Linked DNA regions of Homo sapiens: regions 2, 3, 4, 5 and 6 are each linked to region 1. The links are contacts of gene promoters, found by promoter capture Hi-C in blood cells and fetal thymus (Javierre and others, 2016). All regions are on one chromosome and are shown on one strand. Each heading gives the region's core, a stretch centred on a gene start or on the middle of the fragment in contact. The rest is flanking DNA. Distances are from core to core; before and after follow the strand shown.

What was found. Contacts are between HindIII fragments. The CHiCAGO score rates a contact against its expected background, and 5 or more counts as called.
Region 2: a contact is called between a fragment that was not itself captured here and the fragment with the promoter of GPR119 in region 1, in 2 of 17 cell types (activated CD4 T cells and total CD4 T cells). The highest score is 6.5, in activated CD4 T cells.
Region 3: a fragment that was not itself captured here is called in contact with the fragment with the promoter of GPR119 in region 1 in 1 of 17 cell types (neutrophils); the score reaches 5.1 in neutrophils.
Region 4: a contact is called between a fragment that was not itself captured here and the fragment with the promoter of GPR119 in region 1, in 7 of 17 cell types (megakaryocytes, naive CD8 T cells, M0 macrophages and 4 more). The highest score is 8.0, in megakaryocytes.
Region 5: a fragment that was not itself captured here is called in contact with the fragment with the promoter of GPR119 in region 1 in 7 of 17 cell types (M2 macrophages, M0 macrophages, M1 macrophages and 4 more); the score reaches 7.6 in M2 macrophages.
Region 6: a contact is called between a fragment that was not itself captured here and the fragment with the promoter of GPR119 in region 1, in 12 of 17 cell types (M2 macrophages, M0 macrophages, naive B cells and 9 more). The highest score is 10.1, in M2 macrophages.

The regions. Positions count from the first base shown.
Region 1 is chrX:130,384,085-130,387,407 of GRCh38, forward strand. It overlaps GPR119 (G protein-coupled receptor 119), which reads right to left and starts at 1,590. Exons shown (of 2, transcript NM_178471.3): 1 at 352-1,590. The coding sequence starts at 1,363. The coding sequence ends at 356. The HindIII fragment of the contact is 2,318 bases long and covers 1-1,883 here.
Region 2 is chrX:129,592,471-129,595,793 of GRCh38, forward strand. OCRL (OCRL inositol polyphosphate-5-phosphatase) reads left to right here. Exons shown (of 24, transcript NM_000276.4): 24 at 1-86. Among named protein-coding and RNA genes, the nearest start is that of OCRL, 54 kb to the left of the region's middle. The HindIII fragment of the contact is 729 bases long and covers 1,472-2,200 here.
Region 3 is chrX:129,610,190-129,613,512 of GRCh38, forward strand. No RefSeq gene overlaps it. Among named protein-coding and RNA genes, the nearest start is that of APLN, 43 kb to the right of the region's middle. The HindIII fragment of the contact is 1,006 bases long and covers 1,042-2,047 here.
Region 4 is chrX:130,950,295-130,953,617 of GRCh38, forward strand. No RefSeq gene overlaps it. Among named protein-coding and RNA genes, the nearest start is that of ENOX2, 49 kb to the left of the region's middle. The HindIII fragment of the contact is 806 bases long and covers 1,436-2,241 here.
Region 5 is chrX:130,931,811-130,935,133 of GRCh38, forward strand. No RefSeq gene overlaps it. Among named protein-coding and RNA genes, the nearest start is that of ENOX2, 30 kb to the left of the region's middle. The HindIII fragment of the contact is 3,380 bases long and covers 1-3,201 here.
Region 6 is chrX:130,907,708-130,911,030 of GRCh38, forward strand. No RefSeq gene overlaps it. Among named protein-coding and RNA genes, the nearest start is that of ENOX2, 6.2 kb to the left of the region's middle. The HindIII fragment of the contact is 1,933 bases long and covers 613-2,545 here.

The DNA of each region.
Region 1 (3,323 bases), core at 340-2,839:
CACATTATATTTCTGTTGGACAGTGCTGCTCTGGTATACTCAAAAATAGAATTTGATCTATAAGCATCTTTTTAGCAGTACATTTCTTGCTTTAAGTAAGTGTACCTGTACACCAGAGACAGGCTCATTTCAAAAGAAGGACAGGGAGGAGTGGCGATTTGAAAATGGGGAAACTGATTATAGAAGAAAGTCAGGACTCTGCCTCAGTTACCTGTCAGTCTGGGGGTGGGGGATGCTGGGACAGGGGTCAATTGCCTGAAGCAAGTGCTCTCATCCCCCTAGCTCCTGCTGATCTAGTTGGGGCTCCAGAGTGGGGAGGAGAAAGGCACTTTGAAACTTCTCTGCCCTTACCGTCTTAGCCATCAAACTCTGAGCTGGAGATAGTGACGATGTGACAGGAACTTTCCCTGGGCCTCTCTGGGCCACAATTCCTGGCCGAGAGAAAGAGGAGGAATGAGGTGAGCACCTTCTTCACTCCTAGGGCCATGTGGTAGAGCTGCAGTCGCACCTCCTTCTGCCAATAGGCATAGATGAGTGGGTTGAGCAGGGAGTTGCCCACGCCGAGCAGCCACAGGTACCGTTCCAGCACTAGGTAGAGGTGACACTCCTGGCAGGCCACCTGCACAATGCCAGTGATAAGGAAGGGGGTCCAGGATAGAGCAAAGCTCCCAATGAGAACAGACACAGTACGGAGAGCTTTGAAGTCGCTGGGAGTCCGTGGGGATCGATAACCTCCAGCCATGGCTCCTGCATGTTCCATCTTTCGAATCTGCTGGCTGTGCATGGAGGCAATCTTGAGCATGTCGCAGTAGAAGAAGACAAAGAGGAGCATGGCTGGGAAGAAGCCAACGCAGGAGAGGGTCAGCACGAAGTGAGGGTGAAATACAGCAAAGAAGCTGCACTGCCCTTTGTAGGCAGTCTGCTGGAACATGGGGATTCCGAGTGGGAGGAAGCCAATGAGGTAAGACACTAACCACAGCCCGGCAATGCAGGCCCCGGCCACGAACCCACTCATGATCTTCAAGTAGCGGAAGGGCTGCTTGATGGCAAGGTACCTGTCAAAGGTGATCAGCATGACCGTGAGGACAGAGGCAGCTGCGGAGGAAGTGACAAATGCCATCCGCAGGCTGCACAGGGTCTTCTGTGTGGGCCGAGAAGGGCTGGAGAGCTGGTCTGTGAGTAGGCCAGAGATGGCCACACCAATCAAGGTGTCAGCCACAGCCAGATTCAAGGTGAAGCAGAGACTGACACCATCATTCTTGTGGATCAACAGCAGCACAGCCACAGCCACTAGTGTGTTAGTAGCAATGATGAGGGAGGCCAGGACAGCAAGGATCACTCCAAATGAGAAAGATGATTCCATGTCTCGAAGTGGCAGGACTTCACTTACCAGGGCATGCTATCTCTCCAGCTGAAATTCTCATGGGCCAGGGGCAGAGGAGCTGTGGGTTCAGAGCTACAGCACGATTCTGGCCTTCGCTGGCAGTCCAGGCTGGCAGGTCGCCATCTTTGGGATCCTACAGGTCATGAAGAATTACTCACCCTCTCTTTTCAGTCCTCAGCCTCCTGCCTCTCCAGCTCTCTAAAGGCAGCAACTTCAGTATAGACCTCCCCCTGGGCCCTGAGCTAGTCCCTCCCCCTCCAACCAGCAAGTTACTAGACAACTCCCAAGTACCTGTACATGCTGTCTCGCCAGGCCCTCTCCCTTCACTGGTGCTTCAGGGACTCTGGAGGGACAGGGACATTCATCAGGTCTCCTGTCTGTCAAAAGATATAATTGACTCCAATCATACTTTTTTCTTCCTCCATACCTTGACATTAAATTTCTACTTTTCTTCCAAAACCTCGAGTACCAGCTTAAATAATTAATCTCAGCTTAATTAAGCTTTTTCTTACTAATTCTCAATTACTATTATGAATTGCTTTTAATCAAGCAAGATGCTCATAATCAGTTGAAGTGGGAAGTGAGGGAAGGTGAGCTTTTTGAGGGGCCCCAGCATATTTTCAGGAGTGCTACCACACATTTAAGCTGTTTCTTACCTTTTGCTTCCTAGCGCCTCAAATTCTAATTCTCTCAAGTAGGGCGTGCTGTTCCCCCGTTTCTCATCCCTAGGATCTCAGTTGAGGATTCAGGACAGGAAAAACAGGGCCAAAAACTGTTAACAGCTGTCATTCAGTTTAGAACCCATTCTCCACCTCACGCTGCTGTCTCTCAAGTATACTAATTGATAATTATTTCTGCAGCATGTTGGGCCAGGTCTGGTCAGTGAGTAGTGGCTGCTGGGCTTGCCTTTCTTAATCCTATAGACCTGAGGTATCTCTGCGGGAGGAGAAGAGGAGATGAGCTGCATTCTGGGAAGTGTCTGCTTGATGTTTGGCTATGGAATTTTCCATTTTCCAGGAATAGGAACGTGGGGGCGGTTGAGGGGGGGAGGTTAGACCAAAGGGCAACTGTGTTGCTGAAGCAGGTGAGATGCACTCTGGAGGGGCAGCTGCATAAGTCACTCCTGTTTTAGGATGTGTATCCATTTGCTTGGGTACATTAGAACTACCCTTTCGCCTGCCACTCTCATCTTGGATACCAAGAAGAGAGGGGTGGGGAGAAGAGTGGTTAGAAGCTTATTTACTCAGTTCAGGTGAGAGCACAAATGGGAAAGGTTAGTGTTTGAAGTGAGGGAATAGAGAGCAAGGTGCAGAGTTGGACGCAAATATATTCCAGGATGTTTTGACAGTCTGAGAGGGCCTTTGGCAGATGTCTCTCCTAAAAAAGGATCAGAAAGACTGTGTTGTGGGGATTCAGTATTCTAGTTGCCATCCTGAAAACAGTTCTTATTCTTTGGTATGTCCATTAGGAGATTGATTCCAGTTGCTTAGAACCTAGCCTAATTTTATACCTGGACCTAAGGTGTGCTTGGGTTTCCCCAGCTCTTGACTCCACGGAGTCAAGTTAGCCCTTTTCAAACCCATGTTCAAACTTGAGAGTGTATCAGAATCACCTGGAGGGTGTCTTAAAACCCAGGTTCTTGGGTCCTACTCCCAGAGTTTCAGGTCATTGGTGAGTCTGAGAATCTGCATTTCTTTCTTTCTTTTCTTTTTTATTTTTATTTTTATTTTTTTTTTTTTTTGAGAAGGAGTTTCGCTCTTGTCGCCCAGGCTGGAGTGCAATGGTGTGATCTCAGCTCACTGCAACCTCCACCTCCCAGGTTCAAGCAATTCTCCTGCCTCAGCCTCCTGAGTAGCTGGGATTACAGGTGTGCAGCCACCACGCCCAGCTAATTTTGTATTTTTAGTAGGGACGGAGTTTCACCGTGTTGGCCAAGCCG
Region 2 (3,323 bases), core at 586-3,085, 790 kb before region 1:
CTAGTGGGATTCTATATTTCGTGTCATCTTTTTTATTATAATTTATTGCAAATTTTTTTCTGAATAAATATATGTTGTGTGAAAAAGCAAAGTGTGATTTTGGTGAGGAAGCACTCAGAAGGGAGGGCTTATGTGTCACTGGGTTCCATTCGACTTGACTGCAGTCCCCATCAGCTGTGCCTGCACTGTCATCACCTGTCTTACAGGGAAATACCATTTATAAGAATTCTTAGTATATTCACCCTCAGAGATGAGAAGAAACCATGCGTTTTCAGAGGCTAATAAAGGTGTCCTGTACTTTCAGAGGCCAGCCAAGTACCCTTATTTTAACCCTAAGGATTCAGGCAACAAAACAACTCAATTAGAGGAAAGGATGTTGATTCTTAATGCATGTAAATGTCACACTAGGTCAGATCTGTGATCCCTCCGGCCCCAGAAACAAACCCTAAGATACACATCTGGGGAGAACCCAGCTACCCCTGCTCAGTAGTCTCAGTAGTTTAGACGCGCTTCCCCAAAGAGCTTGTTTTCACATAATCCTATTTTGCAGCTTTTGAAAACCAGTTTTGAACTTTTATGACTTCTTGGGGTGATCAAGTCCATAAATTTAGTACTTTTTTGTTGTTCTAATCTGAACTGCCTAACACGTTGGGAGGAAACCGCTGATTTGAGCATGGTGCCAATGCTTCCCTGCCAATCTCCATTATGAATTTGTGGATTCTGATTCCATTCCCTTTGAGACTGAAGAAGCCTCAGCTGGAGGTTTCTTCTCTACTAAGGCCCTCTTCCAATTCCCTCCAACTGTGAGCTTGACCCTGATGAATGTGCTGACTCAGTGTTGTCATAAACAACTTTCAAAGCCCCACCCAAAGCCTTGGCAGGAGAAGGTGTTTCTTTCTGAGAGTGATTTTCCCCCCAGCAGATGGAGACTGACACCAGAAGTTTTTACATAGTAGCAGGCAATGAGAATAGCAGGCAGGTGGTCAGTCTTTCCAGAGGTTAGAGAGGAAATGGCATCCCCAGCTGTGAGGCTTCTGTTATAGGAGACCCATTAGGACCTTTCTGATTGCAGGGCAAGTTGAAGAACTGGCTCTTGGTGTAGCCTCATAATGTAAAAGCCACACATTGCAACAGTGGCATCACTAAATGTTAGGGAGAGAACCTTAGTGGTGACCTAATCCAATCTCATTGTTTGGATAGGGAAAGTCTCAGAGGGGACAATGACTGACCTAAGGTTACTTAGGTTAGTGACACTGCATGGCATAGTGGCATTTGTTTTTTCAAGCAGTTCTACTCTGCTTGCCCATTAATTCCTTTGGTGGCATCTTATCAATTTCCGTGGCTGTAAATGTCTGTAATACCCCTGATTCCAAATGTTACGTCTCCACCTCATAGCTCTCTTCCGAGTTCCTGCCCAGTATATCCAATTAGTTAGCTGGCATCTCCCCTCAGATGTCTCACAGGCATGTCAAGCTTCACACGTCCAAAGTGGAATTCTTTTACTTCTGGTTCTTTTACTACCACCCAACCTAGATCCTCTACCTGTCTTCCCTCAGCTCAGAGAATGTCAACACCATCTGCCCAGTTGCTGGGGCTAAGCATCTAGGAGTTAGCCTTGATTTCTCTCTTTCCTACCGACCGACCACCTCAGCAACGTGCCCCACGCGTCTGCTTTTCATCACCCCCACTGCCAATTTTATTGGTCAAGGCCACCACCATCATCCCTTCTTAGGGTGTCGTCATGGCCTCCTGCCTAGTCTTCTTTCTCTCTCTCTCTCTTTTTTTTCTTTTTTGAGACAGGGTCTTACTCTGTTGCCTCAGCTGGAGTGCAGTGGCATGATCGGCTCACTGCTGCAGCCTGACTTCCCAGGTTCAAGCGATGCTCCCACCTCAGCCTCCGAGTAGCTGGGACTGTAGGCGCACATTACCAAGCCTGGCTAATTAAAAAAAAAATAATTGTAGAGGTAGGGTCCCCCTGTGTTGCCCAGGCTGGTCTCAAACTCCTGGGCTCAAGCAGTCCTCCCACCTTGGCTTCACAAAGTGCTGGGATTAGAGGCATGAGCCCACCATGCCCTGCCTGGTCTTTTTAACTTTGCTGCCCTCCAATCCATTTTCCACGCAGCAGGCAGCATGACTTAATTACATCAGTCTCATCCCTCCCCTGTTGATAACCCTTCAGCGACATTTACAATGAAACCTAAGCTTCGCCATGGCCCACCAGGCCCTGCATCAATGGGTCTCAAATCTTCATGTGCAGAAGAATCACCTGGATACATTGTTAAAAAGCAGATTCCTAGGCTCCAGAAATTCTGAGTCAGTTGGTCTGAGAGGAGGCACAGGAGTCTGCATTCTAAATCAGGACCCAAGAGCATTTTGATGCAGGACCACACTTTGAGAATACCACCCTAAAGGATCTGACCTCTGCCTACCATAACCCTTCCTCACCCCTGCCAATATACTCTGATACTGTCCTTTTACTCCTCCCAGTGAGCTGAACTCTTTCCAGCCTCAGGGCCTTTGCATGTGCTGTTTACCCAGAAAACTCCTTCCTCTCTCTTTCTTGCCTCAGTCCCCATCTTTGCTGTGCCTAACCCTAAGTCACCCGCCCTGTCCCATTGACTCTCTGCCCTCATTCCTGGGCTTCCTGGTATAGCATGCTGGCTGACTGCCCCTGGGCTTGCCATGTACTCTTCCACAATCTTCCTCTTCCTCTCTTGATGACCTCACGTACCTGCTCCACGGGGCCTGGGGAGGCAGGAAGCTATAGTGGTTCTTCACATAGGCTCTAATGACCAGACTGCCTGAGTTCAAATCCCAGCTCTGCCACTTCTAGATGTGTGACCCTGATCAAAAGTTAATTGACGTCTCTGTGCCTTGGTTTCCATGTCTTTTCTCTCCAGCTTTATTGGGTATAATTGAGAAGACAAATTGTACGTATTGAAGGTGTTTCCACATCTTAAAAGTAATGATAGCACCTTTCCTCATAGTATCATCATGAGGATGAGATCAGATACTACATTTCCAGGCCTTGGAACAGTGCCTGGTGCCTAAGTGCTAAATAAATGGCAGCTAGTGCAATTATTCCCAAGCCCTCCATGGGCCTCCAGGCCCAGAACCCGCTTCTGCTGCCCTTCAGCTCCCAGCAAGTGACTGTACCCTTTACTTTGTGAAAATGTCAAAACAGCCTTGCCCCCTGCACATCAAAATGTCTTCAGCTTAACCTCATCCCTCCCCCTTTCCATCTGTCTGAGAATAAGCGGTCCTCCTCGCCAAGACCAGCTCTTCCACCTGCACTTTTGAGCCCTTCTCCTCCACCCTCTCTG
Region 3 (3,323 bases), core at 295-2,794, 770 kb before region 1:
TGGGCCTGTCCCTCTAGCCCTCCCCTGATAAATCAGTCCCTAACATGTGCCTCTTGGTTGTCAGTGGATAAATGCATGACTCCTTCCAGGGAACTGGTGTGCATTTCAGTGGGGGCTTTCTAGAAACAATACCTTACCTCCCAGAGTTTCCCAAGAGCAGCTGGAGCTCTTGTTTTCTTACTTGAAACCTCAGTGGATTCCTCCAGCAGTTTAAATCTTCATCGTTTGCTGAATCCCAGGACCCAGGAAGCACAGTTTGCACCTGTCTTAATACCCAGGACTCACTGGGGCCACCTTCAGCCTTGGAGACAAGATGGGCCAGAGGGAGAACAGCTGGTGGCCCACATCTGCTTTTGCTTTTGTTTGGACAAAGATGATGTGCCATGTCCTTTTCTCTGTCACTGTGCATTGGTCAGAATATGTGGAGTTATGCTGCAATAACACAGAAACCCTGAAATCTCAGGGGTTTAACACAAGAAAGGCTTATTTCTGGTTCTCACAAAAGTCTAGTGCAGGTTGGATGACACGTAGTAAGGCCAACCTGAAACATGTGGCCTCCTAGAACTCCACAGCAGGGGGAAAGACAGATGGAGAAGTAAATAGTCTTAGTCAGCATGGGCTGTCATAACAAACTAGCATAGACTGGGTAGCTTAAAGAAGAGGAATTCATTTCTCACAGTTCCACAGCTGGAAAGCCCACAGTCAAGACACTGGCAGATTCAGTGTCAGGTAAGGGCACTCTTTCTGGCTTGCAGATGGCTGACTTCTCGCTGTGTCTTCCCATGGCTGAGAGAGAGCTAGCTCTCTGGTATCTCCTCTTACGAAGGCACTAATCCTATTGGATCAGGGCCCCATACTCATTTAACCTTAATTACTTCCTAACACCAAATACAGCCACACTGGCGGTCTAGTGTTTCAATATATGGATAAGGGGGACACAATTCAGCCCATAACAGCACACCAACTCTTAACTGTCTTGGCCCAGAAATGATGCACATTAAGTTCACTGACTCTCTTGGTCAGAATTAGTCACGTGGCCCAAGCTTAATTGCAAGAAAGGCTGAGAAATGTAGGGGAGCAAATATTTGCTGAGCGCAATCTGTGCCACACACTGTCTTCTAGGCTGAGCCTTGAGGAAGAAGGAAAGTCTCGAAAGTCAGAACAGTGGCTCGGATGTAAAGTGTAAGGAAACACACACCTGGGACTGTCTGCCAGGCAGGTTCAAGGAACCAAGACCAGGAACCTGGTTCTGAATAGAATTCTTGGGGGAAGAGGGGGGAGGAGGGAACTTGTCCCTGTGTTTGGTATATTTCGAGGTTTACTATGTCTTCTGCCCAGGATGTGAACACAAATCCTTCATCACAGATATATCAATAGACACTCAGGAAATTCAGATGAATTAGGCAGAGATCAGAGTTTTTATTCTGTTTTTAAAAATCAACATATTGAATGTTTCCCCCAAAACTACGTGTTTTATTTTATTTATTTATTTATTTTGAGACAGAGTCTCACTCTGTCACCCAGGCTGGAGCACAGTGGCGCAATCTCGGCTCACTGCAAGCTCCGCCTCCCGGGTTCACGCCATTCTCCTGCCTCAGCCTCTCAAGTAGCTGGGACTACAGGCGCCCGCCACCATGCCCTGCTAATTTTATGTATTTTTAGTAGAGACGGGGTTTCACCGTGTTAGCCAGGATGGTCTCAATCTCCTGACCTTGTGATCCGCCCGCCTCAGCATCCCAAAATGCTGGGATTACAGGCGTGAGCCACTGTGCCCGGCCAACGTGTTTTTTTTTTTTTTTAACAATCATTTTCCACTACATAGCAATAGGAAGAGGGTTAACACAATTATGTCAAATAGGAATCTTCAGGAGCGAGCTTTAGTGAATAGATAAGCCTGATATGCAAGCAGCACAGCCATGGTTGATTTCTAACTTGCTGGTGGGTCTGTTTTTTTAAACAGAAGATCCTGGGTTCCTTTGGTGGGTACTGGGAGGCAGTGTATCAAACCCACTGTCTCATAGCCCAACCGCTATATGAACTAGTTCAAAGCTTGAATTGGTGAAGTCCAAAAAAGAGAAGCTTTGCTTTTCCAACATGTTCAGAACTGTGATGGGAAAATGGTTGACTAAGTGCCACATCTTTCCTCTGCTCGAATAGAATGTAGATCATTGAGCCATGTGTAGTGACAAGGTGTTTTTGGGAAAGGTCTCAATGCTATGAATTGTTATTGTGCTCATGACCCTCCCTTAAGATGGCGTAAACGCCCTGGCATGATCAGCCCACACCTGCCTCTTTAACCTTATCTCTCTGCCTAATCCCATAGGGACACCAGCCTCCATTCTGGTCCAAGAGGCCCCAAGTCCTTTGCTGCCCTGGGGCTTTTGTGCTGGCTGTTCTCTCTGCCTGGAATGTTCTTCCTCCAGATTTTTGTGGGCTGCTTCCTTTTCATCTTTCAGGCTCAGCTCAAAAGCCACTAGCTCATAGAGGTCTGACAACCCATATAAAGTCAAAGTATCTCCCCTGGTACCCCAGAAACACATATACTGTTTGTCATCACCCAGTTTATTTCTTTGTTAATAAATATCACAGTCATCCCCTATCTTGTTCATCAATTACTTACTTCTGAATGTCTTCGGAGAAATTTCTTAGGGCTGAGCCTACTAGACTGTGAGTTTCCCAAGGGAAAATAGGGACTGAGGTCTCTATAGCCTTTGTCTCCTGCAAGGTAGGGAAGAGGCAGTGATGACTCATGTTTAAGAATACTTGAGTTCTGGCTGGGCATGGTGGCTCATGCCTGTAATCCCAGCACTTTGGGAGGCCGAGGCAGGTGGATTGCTTGAGGTCAGGAGTTCAAGACCAGCCTGGCCAACACGGTGAAATCTTGTCTCTACTAAAAATACAAAAATTAGCCAGGCATGGTGGCGGGCGCCTGTAATCCCAGCTACATGGGAGGCTGAGGCAGGAGAATTGCTTGAACCTGGAAGGCAGAGGTTGCAGTGAGCCAAGATCATACCACTGCAATCCAGCCTGGGTGGCAGAGCAAGACTCCATCTCAAAAAAAAGAAATACTTGAGTCCTAAAGTAGTAGTAGAGTTATCAAATTCCCAGGTGAAAGACACTCCTGAGGTTTCATTGAGCACCTACTGTGTATAAGTTTAGCATCCACTATGTTCTAGGGCTCTAGGCTGGCATGGTCCTTGCCTGCCTCCATGGAACTTGCAGTTCCAATGGAAAAAGCATAAATCAAGCAATTACTACTTTTAATTATCATCATTTAATAATAATGTACTGATAGTAGTAGCAATGGCTAACTCATATTATGC
Region 4 (3,323 bases), core at 589-3,088, 570 kb after region 1:
AACAGTGACAGCCATGCACCTCACAACTGAAAAAAGCTCCTGTCTCCAACCGGCCCTCTTCATGCTTCATTTCTCCAGACTGAGCAACCTTCCCACCCTCTGTGTAACTAATTGGCTTAGAGATATTACTGCCTCACCAGTGGGCTAGGAAACTGAGCTCTTGCCTTCAGCTTTCATTGCTTTTCCAGGCATGGCGGAGCAGTAGTAGGTGGCAGCTGTGTCCCAAAATGTTTCCATTCTCTCTCCCTTCCTCCCTCCTTTCTTCTCTTCTTCTGATCCTGTCCAAGACTGACAGGCGTTATGGGAGCACTGTCATTTTGCTGCTTTGAGTCCCCCAAAACCAACATGTTGAACATTGCTCTATACACATCATACAGAGGGCACATTAGTTTTGCTTGGTGAGCACACCCTAATTGGGTTCCCAGAGGGAAATTCTAATGCCAGTGCAGAGAATTAAGAACCAGCCAACAGATGGGGTGAGAAGCATGATGAGGAGGGTGGCAGCCAGGGCCACATCTTCTGGAGTCTATATCAACCATGAGACTGACAGGTTGGATCTGGGGGAAGCAGCTAAGCTCCCAGTGGAAAGATTGGATCAGATGGCAGAATGAAGTCATTTTTCACAATATTTACAAAGTAAATATCTGCCCACTCAGGGATACCTTTGCAGAATATGAAAGCAGCCACTTTGGACCTGCTATTTTGTTTTGTTTTGTCACTTTTTGAGGGGGTGGGGGAAGGAGGGTATTTTCCTCCTGGGTTCCTTGGACATAGACTCAAGTCATGAGGCCCATATTCCTATCCAAGATATCCCAGCCTAATAATCCCCAGCCTGTGGGTTGCAGACTCCTTACTGCAAGTAGTCCACAAATCCACATGCTTCAATGTTCCATACTTTTGTAATTGGGTAACTTTCTGAGGTACCTTTTTTTTTTCCGAGAACCTTCTTTGAAGTCTCAGTTATTAGTTTTTCTCTTTTCTCTAAGCAAGAATTATTCCCTTAATGATCTCATCCAGTCCCCAAGGTTTACTATCTTAATCCCTTCCCCCCAACTCTACTGCCAAACCCTCTCCACCTGCAGCCTTCACCATATTAACACCTTTACATCATCCTTGACACTTCTCTTTCTCTCACATCTTACATGCGTCTGTTAGAAAATTCTGTTCTACTTTCAAAACACTATGTATCCAGAATCCAACTGCTTCTCTCTACCTTTACGTTACTGCTATCATCCTAGTCGGAGCAATTATCCATTTATTCCTGGATTTATGCAGAAGTTTCCTAGCTGTTCTCCCTGCTGCCACCCTTGCCCTTCAAAGTTTGTTCTTAACAGCCAAGTGATGCTTTATTCTAATTGAAATTTTTATTGAGCTAATTGTAGATTCACATGCAGTTGTAAGAAATAATTTAGAGAGACCCATTGACACTTTGCTAAGCTTCCCAAATAGCAGCATTTTGCAACACTATAGTATAATATCACAACCAAGATACCGATACACTGATACAAATCACTAATTTGATTCTGATTTCTCCAGTTTTACTTTATACTTGTGTGTGTAGTAAGTTCTATACAATTTTATCACGTGTAGATTCACAAATTTAGCACCAGTCAAGATACAGAACATTTCCACAAGGATCCTTTGTGTTGCTCTTTTATAGCCATGCACACAACCCTCCTGTGCACCCCACAGTCCCATCCCTAAACTCTGGCAACCACTAACCTGTCATTCATTTCTAATATTTGGCATTTCATAATGTTCTATGAATGGGATTATACAGTGTGTCACCTTTTGGGATTGGCCTTTTAAAAAATTTAGCATAATTCTCCAAGTTGTGTTTATCAATAGTTCATTGCCTTAATTGCTGAGTAATATTCCAAATATTCCATGGTATATTAGTTTGATAGGGCTGTCATAACAAAGTACCAAAAACTACATGGCTTAAAACAACAAGAATTTGTTGCTCTACAGCTCTGGAGGCTAGCTGTCCCAAATCAAGTCAGCTGTCTCTGAAACTGTCATGGTAGAATACTTCCTTGTCATTTCCTAGCTACTAGTAGTGGCTGGCAATCTTTGGCTTGCAGCTGCCATCAGTCCAATCTTTGCCTACATTATCACATAACCATCTTCATGTCATCTTCCCTCTGTGCATGTTTGTCTCTGTGTCCAAATTTCCCCTCTTTATTTTATTAAGGAGAGGAGGGCAAGGGAACTTCTGGGGGAACGAGGGATCAAAGAGGAAGCTTAAGTGTCTAGGTTATATCACTGAGCAGCAGAGACTCTGAAGGGTAACAGTGGCTTAGAGTCTTTAGCCCTGTGGTTTGTCTTATCTCTGGCTAACAGGTGTTGGATGCAGTTTTGTGGAGTATGCAAAGCAGGAAGGCTCTAAATGAGTAAATATCTGTTTATTTGAGCTACATTTATAACAAAAGAATGTGTGAAAATTTGACCTTAGTACTGATGGGCTTTTGAGCTAATAAATCCTGGCTTGTGAAAAAAATAAACAAGATAGGGCTAACATACAGAGGCCATCTTTGACTCATTTGTATAACAGTGGGTCATATGGAAACTACATTTAATATGTTGAAGAAGTACCAAACTGTTATTCAGAGTGGCTACATTCTCACCCGTAATGTATGAGTGATCCAGTTTCTCCTCATCCTTGGCAGCATCTGATGTTGTCACTATTTTTTATTTTAGCTAAGCTGATAGTAGTGTAGTGATATATCATTGTGATTTTTTTTCACATTTCTTTAATCACTAATAATGTTGAATATCTTTCCATGTACTTATTTGCCATCTGTATATCATCCTCAGTGAAATGTCTGTTTATGTCTTTTTTCTATTATTTAATTGGATTTTTTAAACTGCTGAGTTTGGGTTACTCCTATACTCTAAATATTGTCCTTTCTGGATATGTGGTTTGCAGATATTTTCTCCCACTCTGTAGCTTGTTGTTTCATCCTCTTAATAGGGTCCTTTGCAGAGAAAAAGTTTTTTATTTTGATGAAGTCTTATCAATTTTTTCCTTTTATAAATTGTATTTTTAGTGTCAAATTTAATAAATCCTTGTCTAGCCTTAGACCCTGAAGATTTTCTCCTACTTAAAAAACTTTTTTAAAAAGTTTTATAATTTTATGTTTTACATTGAAGTCCATGATCCATTTTGAACTTTTATAAGGTATGAGGTTTAAGTTAAGGGTCATTTGTTGTCTATGAATGTCCAATACCTCTAGCACCATTTGTTACAAAGTTTATCCTTCCTCCAGTGATATATTTTGACAACTTTGTCAAAAATTACTTGGACACATTTGTGTGGGTCC
Region 5 (3,323 bases), core at 262-2,761, 550 kb after region 1:
AAAGGAAATTGTGAGACTTCACAAACCAGTAAAAATGCTTTAAATTAGAAATTCAAAGCTCATAGCAGAAGTGGACATAAAAACAAATGTATGTAAAATAAGAGTTAGCTGAATTCAAGAAATTAATTGATGTCAAAATCATCATAGAAATGAGGACTAAATTGTAATCAATAAGTGAAAGACAGCTTGGCTCACACTGTATTTCCTTGAGTTTCTTGAACATGCTACTCCATTGTTGTCTTGCTTTCTATGTTATTGTTGGGAAGTTTGGTGCTAAACTTATTTTCATTCTTTTAAAGTTACTTCAACTTTTTGCCAAGAGGCCCTGAGCTTTATTTATTTACATTTGAAGTCTAAGATTTGGCACTGAGATTTTTATTGGTGCCAACCATTCTGGATCATCTTTCCCCCATACATGACGGACTGTATCTAGTATGACAATGCTGGTTTTATTTTGTTGCTGGAAAGTTTTTTTCTTTTAAGTATACTTTTAAACATTAGTTCTGTTTTATTGTTACATGGGGAATACATGGAGGTAAAGGGATATCAAATAAAGATTAAATCTGACAAACCAGGTAGTAGAAGGTTAAGTAAGGAAAGTAAGAGTATTATAAAAGACAGTAGTGTAAAGGTAACCACTAGAACAAAGTGACAAACCTGCCTAATTACCAAGGCAGGAAAAGAGCCCACATAGACACACAGAAAGTACAATATAATACTTACAGTGTGACGGCTCCCATGAGATGTCAGTTTGGCTGGGCTATAGCCCCCAGTTGTTCCATCAAACACTAATCTAGGTATTGCTGTTGAATGTTCTTGCTGATGCAATTAAAGCCCCTAATTCATTGATTTTAAGTAAGAGAGATTATCCTGGATAATCTGAGTGGGCCTGACTGAATCAATTAGGTAAGTCTTAAAAGCAGGGCTGAAGTTTCTCGAAGAGACAGAAAAAATTCTTCCTGTGGACAACAGCTTTGGCCTGTGCCTGTGGAATTTGAGCCTGCCAGTGAACTTCCCTTCGTGACTGCTTGCCCTAAGGATTTCAGGCTTTTTTAGCTAGGCCCTACAATTGCATAAGCCAATTCATGTAACAGACATACACCCTACATGTTCTACTTCTCTGATTCAACCTGACTGACACACACAGTAATAGAATAAAATAGTATGACAGAGTTGAAATTAAACATATCAGTGATATCAATAAATGTGAATGGGCTTAATTCACTATTTAGAGAAAATGATTCAGAGGAAATACAAGGTGAGTCTGGAGCATCTTGTAGTACCACAAAATAAGGAAGTAGTTTTTCTAAAAAAAAGGTAGGGCATGTCAAAGTGACACAGAAGGACAGAAGGCAATGTGAAAGAGCTCCCAATGAGCAAAGATGGAAAAATCTGAACAACAAAGTAAATCATGTACTACTGGATTATTACCCAAAGTACAAAATAAAAATATTTGAATCCTTAGTGGTATAAATAGATGATTGAATAAATAAATAAATGAGGGAAACAAGACAAATTTTCTTACAACAGAATTCCATGTTTATCAGAAATTTGTTAGAAATTTCTATAGATTCTCCCCTCTTGGAGATGATGCTTAATTATTATTGCCACCACCACTCCTTGAGTTTGGGCAAGACTTAGTGACTTCTTTCCAAACGAGGAAAAAAATCATCTTTACAGTAAAGAAACTATCACAACTGGCATCAGGATCCCTCATGTGACTCCCCCATATGCTTTAAATCCCTTTGACTTCCCCTTTTGCTACTAGCTGGAGAAAACTGCATTTAAAAGTGTTCATGTGATTTGACTAGGCTCACCTGAATAATCTTCCTTTTTTGAGGTCAACTACGCTGTGTAACACAATCATGAGAGGTATCTCATCATATATTAATATATCTATACAGGTTCTAGAGATTAGGGTATGACATTTTAGGGGCCATTTTAAGAATTCTACTTAACATACCGTCATATAAATATACATTTAAAATTAATAGTTGGGTGCGGTGGCTCTTGCCTGTAATCTCAGCACTTTGGGAGGCCAAGGCAGGTGGATCACATGAGGCCAGGAGTTTGAGACTAGCCTGACCAACATGGTAAAACCCCATCTCTACTAAAAATACAAAAATTAGCTGGGTGTGGTGGTGCATGTCTATAATCCCAGCTACTAGGGAGGCTGAGGCAGGAGAATCGCTTGAACCTGGGAGGCGGACATTGTGGTGAGCCTCCCACCTCACCATTGCTGGTGAGCACTCCAGCCTGGGCAAAACAGCAAGACTGTCTCAAAAATAAATAAATAAAATAATTAAATTAAATCACACTTACAGAAAACTGCATTTGTATGAAGAGGTTTTTCTTTTCGGAGAAATTGTTCTCCAAGAATCATCAGGTCTAACTGTAATACAATTTATTGGAAATTTATTACATTGTTATCACAACCTAAAAATGCATGTTGCTTTCATTATGTCAATTAAAAATGAGATTACTTGCCAGGCATGGTGGCTCACGCCTGTAATCCCAGCACTTTGGGAGGCCGAGGCGAGTGGATCACAAGGTCGGGGGATTGAGACTATCCTGGCTACGGAGAAACCCCGTATCTACTAAAAATACAAAAAAATTAGCCGGGTGTGGTGGCAGGCGCCTGTAGTCCCAGCTACTCGGGAGGCTGAGGCAGGAGAGTGGCGTGAACCCAGGAGGCGGAGCTTGCAGTCAGCCGTGTTTGCACCATTGCACTCCAGCCTGGGCGACAGAGCAAGACTCCATCTCAAAAAAAAAAAAAAAAAAAAAAAAAAAAAAAATGCGGTTACTAAAATTAAAAACTTTGAGGATCTAATAAATAATTTTCACAAAAGTGAGCCAAAAAAATCTTATGATCAATAAAAATACCACATTAATAAAATATTATTCATTGTATTATATAAAATTTTGACACCATTTTTGCAATTTGTATGTTTATATATCATTCAGGTATCATGTATCATTGCATGTGCAATTAAAGCCCCTGATCCACTGAATTTTAAGTAAGGGAGATTATCCTGGATAATCTGAGTGGGCCTGACTAAATCAATTAGGAAGTTTTAAAAGCAGGGTTGAGGTTTCTATAAGAAACATTTATGTATCATTGTTATCTATATTACATTTTATATGTAATAAAAGATTTTAAGGAAAAATGTTGATATTTTAGTACCTTTAACATTTTTAAAAAGCTTTATGAATAAGGGGCCCTCCATTTTCATTTGCACTGGGTCCCACAAATTATGTACCCCCAGCTTTAACCCGACAAGAGCATTACAAAAAAAGCAGATTACAAACCAATATCCCTCATG
Region 6 (3,323 bases), core at 329-2,828, 520 kb after region 1:
GCACAGTCAATGTCTAATATTCAGTCTGTTGCCATGTTAGGACATTACCTGTCATGTGCCCTAGAGCCTTGTCTCAAACCAGAGTTAGCATTTCATATATGGACAAAATTATGATACAGTTTGTGGCCAGGATTTCAATGATGAATATGAACAGGATTTGGGATGCATATTTGGCTAGAGTAAGTTCAAGGTGTGGTTTCTGACTTTAGCCAGTGTCAGGATTCTGTCTTTGTCCATAGCTCATATCAACAATGTTCTATGGAGCTAACTCACAGTGGCCTGTGTTGGCCCTCATTCTGTGGCCAGAGCAGGGCTCAGTCGGTGACCTGTATTAGCCATTTCAATTTGACCACTATCAGAGTTGAGTCTGGAGGGAGTAATTCCACTATGACTTTATGTAGCATTTGTGTTCACTGAGTATTGGTGGTAGTGCTATCTGATTAAACTTGTACCAGAGTTTGGGAGTTACCAATAACCAAGGTAAGGCTTACTATGAAGAAGGTTTTAAGGCTAAGAGTGTAAACAGGTTTTTTGGATTAGCTGTTGATGTTATTTGTCAGTCAGTGGATAGAGTTGAGATGAGAACAAACAACACATAAAATCCAGATTGAAAGCTTTAGAGGCTCAGGCTGTAATCAGGGTTTTGGGATCAGGATGTTGCCAGGGTTTGAGTTCAGAGTGTTCATTGCCTGTTGTCAGTCTGGCACTTAGACTCTGGCTTAGTGTAGCAGGCATTTCGGTATCAGTAGTAGAGTTCAGTCTTTGCTAATTGTTAGTGACCATAATGTGCCCAGTGCCATGGGTACATCTATTCACAATTGAGGACTAAGTTTGTGACCAGACTGATTGCTCAACCTCCAGCTAGTGCTAGGACTCAGTTTGTGGCCACTAATACAGTGAACTTTGTTTATGGGTTTAAGACTTGATATGTGACAAAGGTGAGTACTTAGTCTCAGCCTGTTGTTAGATCTGATAATATGAGCAGGATTTTGATTTAGTCTTGTAGGGTCAGGAATCATTTCTCTAACCAGGCTTAGGGCTTGGCCTTTAGGTCTCAGACTGTGGTGGGACTTACAGTCTTCATCCCAGCTCAGTATTCAGAATGTGGCCAGGAAGAGGGCTCAGATCTTAGCCATGGTGAGTTCCGTCTGTGCTCAGGGTTAGAATTAAATCTGTTGCAGGGTTTTAGGCCAAGAAAATGAAAAGTATTTGTTTTGTCTTTGTCTAGTTTGTCCTTCATTCATCTTCAAGGTTTGGGTTCAGTCTCTGCCCAGTGCTGGTGAGCAGCTTAATTTCTGGTATTAGGAATCAGTCGGTAGCCAGGGTTAAAGTTAAAGTTGTGGTTGAAATTGGGATCCAGTCTCGGGTGAACATTTAGCCAGAGATAGGGTTCAGTCTATCTCAAAAATTCAGGATCAGTCATTAGCCATTTGGAGAAATCAGATTTATTTTCAGGTTGAAAGCTCATGTCAGAGGTTAGGCTTATGGGCTCAGTCTGTGATGAGAGTTAGGAATTCAGTCTATGGCTAGAGTTAGAGATGCAGTCTGTAACCAGTTAGAAGCTGTAAGGTTTAGGGGTCAAATCAGTGGCCAGTGATAGGGCTCAGTCTGTCCCAGGATCAGTAGATTATTTCCTGATCAGATTTATGAACCCAGTCTCTGTCCAGGTTTAGAACTTGGGCTTTGAACATGGTTAAGACTCAGTTTGTGGCCATGTTCAGGGTTCTGTCTATAGTCAGGATTAGGACATATGCTGTGGTCAAAATATTCTCAAGTTTTGTGGAAGATTTGGTTTCACTTCTTGGCCATGATTAAGGCACAGAGTTGGGACAAGTTTAGAGTCTGGTCTCTGTACATGTTTTCGTCTCTGTATGAGGCCAAGTTTAGTAGTCATTCTGTTGCCAATGTTGGGGTCATTTTCTGGTTAGTGCTAAGTCTGGGAAATTGTAGCTGGGTTGGTTTCCAAGATCAGATCTCAGGCTGTGACCAAGTTAGAGCCTCAGTCTGTAGTCAGGGCTAGAGCTCAGTTAGTATCTATGCTGAGCACTCATTTTGTGGTCAGTTCAGGATGTTAAGTATATCCCAGAGTTAGGTCATGCAGTCTGTAGCCTAGTTTAGAGACTCAGCCTGGGGACAGACTTAGGGGCTATATCTGATGTTATTTTTGATCCCTGTATCGTGAATTAAGGACTTATACAGTAGCCATAGTTATGGTTCAATAGGGGATCAGGGTTAGAGATTCAGGTTGGGACCAGTCTTAAGTACTTACTCTTGGGCCAGATGTAGACAGTCAGTATGTAACTAGGCCTAGGGACTTGATTTAATCAGGATTAAGACCTTGGAGTGTGGCCAGAAAGTGGCTCAGTTTGTGGATAGAATTAGGGTCTTCATTTGTGGCCAGGGTTAAAGGCTTGGTGTGAAATTGGAGTTAAGCCTCCAAGTTCAGAGTTAGGAGTTTAGGCTATGTCTTGGGTTAGGTGTTTGGCTGGTGGTCAGGGTTAAACACAGGATCTGCATTCAGTGTTGGCAGCTTGCTCTGTGACCAAGCTTAAGAGACTGTTTGCTCAGCCTGTGGTGATAGTGATTGGTAATTATACATCAATAAAGTTGTCATAAAAGGTTAAAAAAGTGGATTCATACAAGTGAAATGGTAGGAATGATGCAGGGAAGAAACCATAAAGAGAGGCCGTTTACTGAATCAGGACCAGCAATGTCCTTGGTGTCTCAGAATTTTTGCTTAAGAAGGACAGGGCAAGCACATGAGATTGAGAAGAAAGGAAAGAACTGGTGACCAGGGAGCTGGTAACCCTGGGAAGTAGATATGTGCTTCTTGAAGGACAGACATTTTTATAAATTGTGGAATTAATGCAAGTTGGAAAACCTTGCAAAAAATGGAAAGTCCCATTTGGTTTTTTGTTTGTTTGTTTTGTTTTGTTTGTTTTTTGGGGATTTTTTTGAGACGGAGTTTCGTTCTTGTTGCCCAGGCTGGTGTGCAATGGCGCGGTCTTGGCTCACTGCAACGTCTGCCTCCTGAGTTCAAGTGATTCTCCTGCCTCAGCCTCCCAAGTAACTGGGATTACAGGCACCCACCCCCACGCCCAGCTAATTTTTTTGTATTTTCAGCAGAGACGGGCTTCACCATGTTGGCCAGGCTGGTCTCAAACTTCTGACCTCAGGTGTTCCACCCGCCTTGGCCTCCCAAAGTGTTGGGATTACAGGCATGAACCACCACACCCGGCCAGAAAGTCCCATTTGTTAAGCTCTTACATCATGTTCTTTTTGCCAGTATTGGTTTTCCTGAGCACCCTTTCTAAACCATTCCT